Regions from separate parts of the Homo sapiens genome. Here region 1 is linked to region 2. Evidence: promoter capture Hi-C in 16 types of primary human blood cells and fetal thymus (Javierre and others, 2016). All regions are on one chromosome and are shown on one strand. The core of a region is centred on a gene start or on the middle of the fragment in contact, and the rest is flanking DNA. Distances in the headings are between cores, read along the strand shown.

Evidence for each region. The method cuts DNA at HindIII sites, captures the fragments that hold promoters and counts their contacts. A CHiCAGO score of 5 or more calls a contact.
Region 1: a fragment that was not itself captured here is called in contact with the fragment with the promoter of PRKCE in region 2 in 1 of 17 cell types (total B cells); the score reaches 5.2 in total B cells.

The regions. Positions count from the first base shown.
Region 1 is chr2:45,972,858-45,975,611 of GRCh38, forward strand. The region is part of intron 2 of PRKCE (protein kinase C epsilon); the gene reads left to right. Among named protein-coding and RNA genes, the nearest start is that of PRKCE-AS1, 300 kb to the left of the region's middle. RefSeq lists enhancers at 587-1,136, 2,098-2,147. The HindIII fragment of the contact is 3,479 bases long and covers 1-2,754 here.
Region 2 is chr2:45,650,263-45,653,172 of GRCh38, forward strand. It overlaps PRKCE (protein kinase C epsilon), which reads left to right and starts at 1,413. Exons shown (of 15, transcript NM_005400.3): 1 at 1,413-2,186. The coding sequence starts at 1,839. It overlaps LOC102724965 (a long non-coding RNA gene), which reads right to left and starts at 953. Exons shown (of 2, transcript XR_005647119.2): 1 at 1-953. RefSeq lists silencers at 573-672, 843-1,312 and enhancers at 688-982, 1,471-2,091. The HindIII fragment of the contact is 7,889 bases long and covers 1-2,910 here.

The DNA.
Region 1 (2,754 bases), core at 88-2,587, 320 kb after region 2:
CCTATCAAATTCTCAAAGGCATTTTTCAATAAAGACAGAAAAAACAATCCTAAAAGTCATATGGAACCATGAAAGACTGAACAGCCAAAGCAATTCTGAGTTAAAAGAACAAAGATGGAAGCATCACATTTCCTGATTTCAAAATATATTACAAAAATTCAGCAATTAAAACAGTGTGGTACTGGCATAAAAACAGACATATAGACGAGTGGAACAAAATAGAGAGCCCAGAATTAAGTTAATACATATGTGGGATCTACATTTTGGAAGAGACCTTTCATAGCGGAGGGAAATGCTGAAGGGATCCGTTTCTGGTGGTGGACTCCAGGCCCCAGTAGGGAGGTTCTTGGGGACTGAGGGACCTAGTAGCTCCCCTTTTCACATTGTATAGGCCACTTTCTTCTCCACCTGTGGGTGACAGTGCTGAGGATACTCTGGCCTGACCCGTGGCTTTCCTGCCCAGAGGAATGTGGAATTGGGGTGTTTTCAGCAGCCACAGGCTCCAACCCCTTTCTCCTGTCACCTGCTTTGTAGCTTTGCACACAAGCCTCACTTGAAGCATGAAGTTTACCCATGTTCTTTCCCTCCTGTGACCTTCTGTTTTTCCATATCTGACATCAAATCTGACTTAAAAGGCAGTGCAGATGCTCCTTTGGGGCAATAGTAATAGAAACCTTGGAGGAAGTTGAACTTAGAACTCTGACTTACAGGAGTTATCCTTGGCTGTCTGCCTAGCCTGTGCCTGAGACTCCCCCTCCACACCCCTGCCAACTTTAAACAGCTTCCCTCCAGGTATCAGGGCACCCCGCTGAGACAGCTTTGAAATGAATAGAGTCAAATTAATTGGTTGCCATATTGCCCTATTGGATTGATGTCAACACAGTTTAGAACGATTGGTTTCATTGCTCGTCATTTCTGTAAAAAGTTGGGAAATAAGACTCTTAGGAAGGACTGTAACCACCGTCATAACAGTGTTCCTTTGAGAAAATTAGATTGGACCCATCACCATTTTAACTGAAAATAGTTTCCCAGGATGAAAACAACTAGTCAATTTGAGAGATTTGTAAATCAAATTGCATCTTAAATGCATTAGGAGACGGGCTTACTGTTCAAATGTATTCCGTGGTGAATCCTGTGAAAGGAGTTAAGGGTGCTCTTTTACGAAAATAACCTGCATCCTGTGTCCTATGATGCCCAGGATGATGTTTCTGGATTGGATTTTTGTAGGTAAGTTTGTAGCAAGTAAGGGCTACTGAATAGATTTGGTTTTTGGTTGTCATATTTTTGTTCTTGCTTATGAAAATAGTAGAACATTCTACACATTGTGAAAGTATGAAGCGAAACAAAAACTTGCCTATGATGGCAGCACCGAATGGTGATTGCCATACTTCTGCAGCTGTGTGTGTTGCTGTCTCTATACTAGAACAGACCTGGGTCCTCCCGTGAGAATTTGGTCAGCAGGTCAAGACCCCTAGGTTGGAGCAGGGTAGGAGGTGGTGAGCTTTCTGTACCCAGAAGGTCGGTGATGCCAGAGACTTTTTGAAACAATAAGCACCAATTGAAACCCAGGTGGGCTAGGGGTCAAGAAGCAAGGGGATCCACAAGCAGACCTCCACCCGGGTCATCTGAGCCTGTGTTGAAGATGCAGTCTGGGAACGCTGAGGGCAGATTTCCAATAAACAGCTGCCTGTTTGCTCAGAGGCTGCTGCGTCCTTGGAAGCACACGCTGCGCATTTGGTCCTGTTCTCACCTTTTACCTCCTTCAATTTTACCTTCCCTCTACCCTACCCTCCAATAACAAGATGCCCTTGGATTAATCTGTTGTTCAGGTCATACATATGACCTCCACTTCAGGGAACCTTACATTCAGAGAGGTCCAGGAGGGATCAATGCTTCTTCCCCTGAAGACTGGCCCTGTTATGGTGAGATGTCAGGCACTCGCTGATGCCTGGAGATATTTGGGGGCACAGAGCCTTCCAGTGCATTTTAAGCTGACCTGTGCAGGGGACCTTCTAGGAGACCTTCTAGAAGGTGTCAGAAACCTAGGAAGAAGCCCAAAGCCTGCCCACTGTGTTCTTGGGGAAGCCACAGGCAGCTGGACTCTTTGGTGATGAAAGCCACTCAGATGAGAGCTTGGGGACTTTCTGTAAGGAGTGCAGGCCGTCCTTCAGAGCAGCGTGTGGGTGGAGGAACAATGGCCTCTTTCTCACTCTCTGGGTTAGAATCTGGGCTTCCCCACTGAGTAGCTGTGTTAACAGGAGTAGGTTACTTAAACTCTATTCTTCGCTTTGCATACCTGTAAAATGGGGCTAATAGCAGTACCCTTCAAGTGGAGTTGTTTCGAGGGTTCATTGAGATGTATTGTATCACTAAGATATAACACACTTAGCATAGCACTTGCCAGAGCGTAAGCCCACGATAAACATTTATCATGGTCATCCTTGTCTTAATCAGCTCAGACTGCAATAACAAAATACCAAAGACTGGGTGTCTTAACCAACAGACATTCACTTCTCACAGTTTTGGAAGGTGGACATCCAAGATCAGGGAGCCAGTATGGGTGGGATCTGCTGAGGGCCCTCTTCCTTGCTCACATGACAGAGAGCTCACTCACTCAGGTCTCTTCCTCCTCTTATAAGGACACTAATCCCATCATGGAGGCTCAACCCTCACGACCTCATCTAAACCTAATTACCTCCCAAAGGTCCCATCTCCAAATAGCATCACTTTGGGGGTTAAGACTTTAATGTATTA
Region 2 (2,910 bases), core at 163-2,662:
CGAGAGTTTAAAGGTTACGGAGGAAATTAGCAAGGACACAGCCACTCGCCCCCCGGAGGGCGCGCCCCATTTTCCCGCAGCCCGGACGGCGGCTGTCAGCGCGCTGATCAGTGCCGAAGTCCCCCAAAGGGGCACCGATAAGGACCAGCGCAAACAGGAACAGTCACTTTGCAAAAAATAAGCAGACCACAAACCAAGCCGGGGCTCTACCGAGCTTTCACTTGTCAACAAGTTCTCGCAGCCTGCGAAGTCCAGGACAGATCCCAAAGGGGAGAATGTCCCCAAAGAAAGGCAAGAGAGAAGAACAGAGTTTAAAACTTCACCCGAGCCATGCTTGTCCCTCCCCCTTCCCCCTCCCCCACCGCCGTGGATCACAGCGTCCCGGGACAGAGTGACAGATGGGCCAGAACTCCGCAGACTGCTCCTGCCCGCCGCGGCCCGAGTGGGGGTGGGCAAGGGAAGGGTCCCGAGGCCTCTAGGGCAACAGGGCCCCCTCCACTCCCCCATCCCCGGCTCTAAAAGACAGTGTTGGCCGCAGGGTCCCCGAGAGATACGCGGCCCGGCGGGGCCCATCCATGGCCATCCACGGCCCCCGGCACGCGCATCCAGCCCAGCGCCGCCGCACCCCGGGGTCCCGCGCGGGGTCCCCGCCCCCCGGCTGACCCGCCCGCCGCTGCGACCCCGGGCAGCCTCGCCAGCTCTCCACCGTTGTCTCCTCGGCTCACTTTTTCCGTATTGCTCCCCCAACCGGCAAAACTTTCTATTTCCCCAAACACTGCCGTGCGCGCGCGCGCGTGCACACACACACACTCACACACACACACTCACACACACTGACGTCTTTTGCGCATTTCCTGCATTAGAGGGAGGGAGACTCGCTCGCACACCGACAGAGGGAGAGGAGACCGCGGGGGAGCGCGGGCTGGCGGGCGGCGAGCGAGCGGCAGCCGAGAGCGGGGACGCGGGGAGCGCGGAGGGCGGGCGCCGGCGCCCAGGAGGTGGGGCCGCGCTGAGTCGCAGTCCCTGCCCCGCCGCCGCGCTGCGCACCGCCCGGTGCTGGCCTGCGCCCCCGAGCCGGATCGGCGGCCGCCCGGACTCCGAGCCCGCGCGGATGTGAGATTCCGGGCTCCTGGCGCCTCCCGATCGCCGGCTCCGGCGCGGCGCTGCTTCGCCCAGGAGGCGGCGGCCCCGGCTGGCCGTGGGGCTTGTGGATTTTTAAAAATTTGGCTCCGAGGAGGACCATTTCCTCTCGACATGCATCCCTCCGGATAGACTGAACATCCCTCCGTTCACCCCCCCGCCCCGCGCGGTCAGAGGCAGGCGCTGAGTGTGCGAAGAGGATCCGGGTTGAAATCTGCGCCCCCGGTTCTCGTCCCCGCCCCGTCCCACCGCCCCATCCCCCTCCCGGAGTCGAAATTTCCCGGGATTATGTTTCGGAAAGGTAGGTAAGCGCCGGGCGCGGCGCCCGCTTTCCCGCAGTCCGGAGCCGGAGAGCCAGCGAGGCGGCGAGGCAGCCCCCGCGGCTTGCAGCGGAGCCGACAGCTCGTCTTCTCTTCTGGAGGTGCAGCTGGTGGTCGGGGGGAGAGACTTGCTCCAAACACGGACATCCCCCAGCTCTCCCCCCTCCCTGTTTTCCGTTAGGAACCCGGCGAGGAAATACATGCACTGGCTGAGAATCGCCCGCGCCAGGGCGCAACGCCACAAGGTGTAGGGAGTGTGCGGGGTGGGGCGAAAGGGGACCCAAGAGTCCCTGTGGCTCGGAGTGCCGGGCCGTCGGTTCTTCATTCCTGCCCTCGGGGCAGACGGAGTGACCCCGGCCCCCACTCCCCGCCCCGACCATGGTAGTGTTCAATGGCCTTCTTAAGATCAAAATCTGCGAGGCCGTGAGCTTGAAGCCCACAGCCTGGTCGCTGCGCCATGCGGTGGGACCCCGGCCGCAGACTTTCCTTCTCGACCCCTACATTGCCCTCAATGTGGACGACTCGCGCATCGGCCAAACGGCCACCAAGCAGAAGACCAACAGCCCGGCCTGGCACGACGAGTTCGTCACCGATGTGTGCAACGGACGCAAGATCGAGCTGGCTGTCTTTCACGATGCCCCCATAGGCTACGACGACTTCGTGGCCAACTGCACCATCCAGTTTGAGGAGCTGCTGCAGAACGGGAGCCGCCACTTCGAGGACTGGGTGAGTGCGGCGCCTCCCCGTCATTCCGGGAACCCGGTTGTGGGGTCCCGGGGAAAGACTCGCTGGTCTTGATCGTAGGGCTCCGGGACTTATTGACGACTGGGGTGTGTGTGCCTGTAAGTCTCAGTTTCCTTGGGGAGGTACACTTCACTTCATAGTTGGGGAGAAACAGGCATTGGCGAGGAAGATGAGACTTGGAAAGAGGATGTGGCCCTCTGCTCCCTCTGTGCCCTCCAGTTGGTGGGTGCTGCGGGAGGTTTGCAAACTGGGAGAGCCTGGGCCACTGGTGCTGAAGGTTGGCCGAGGACCCGGCTTTCTTCCGCAGGCGCGTGGTGGGCTGGCTGTGTGTGATTGTGTGTGGGTGGGTCCCTCCGTCCTTGGAAAGGCACGTGGAGCCTTTGACTGAAGGCTTCTTGCACGTCCTGGCTTTGTCCTGCTTAGCCGAGCGAGGAGTTGCTTTATTTTTCCCTCCGAGAGGAAGCTGGCTTGTTTCTATTCTCTTGCATGGTGGTTAGCTCATCTTCTGACATACAAGTAGAAAAAATGTGTTCTCCTCCAGGATGTCTCCTCTATGGTCCCAGAAACATCAGTCGAGCTTGTTTTGTCCAATTCATTGCCCATCCATGCAGAATGAATGTTGCATTTTAAGAAGGGTTCTGCTTGTGGGTAATTGGAAGTCAGTGCTTTGAATCTTATTTAAAGTTATATTGTTTCTCTGTTTTGA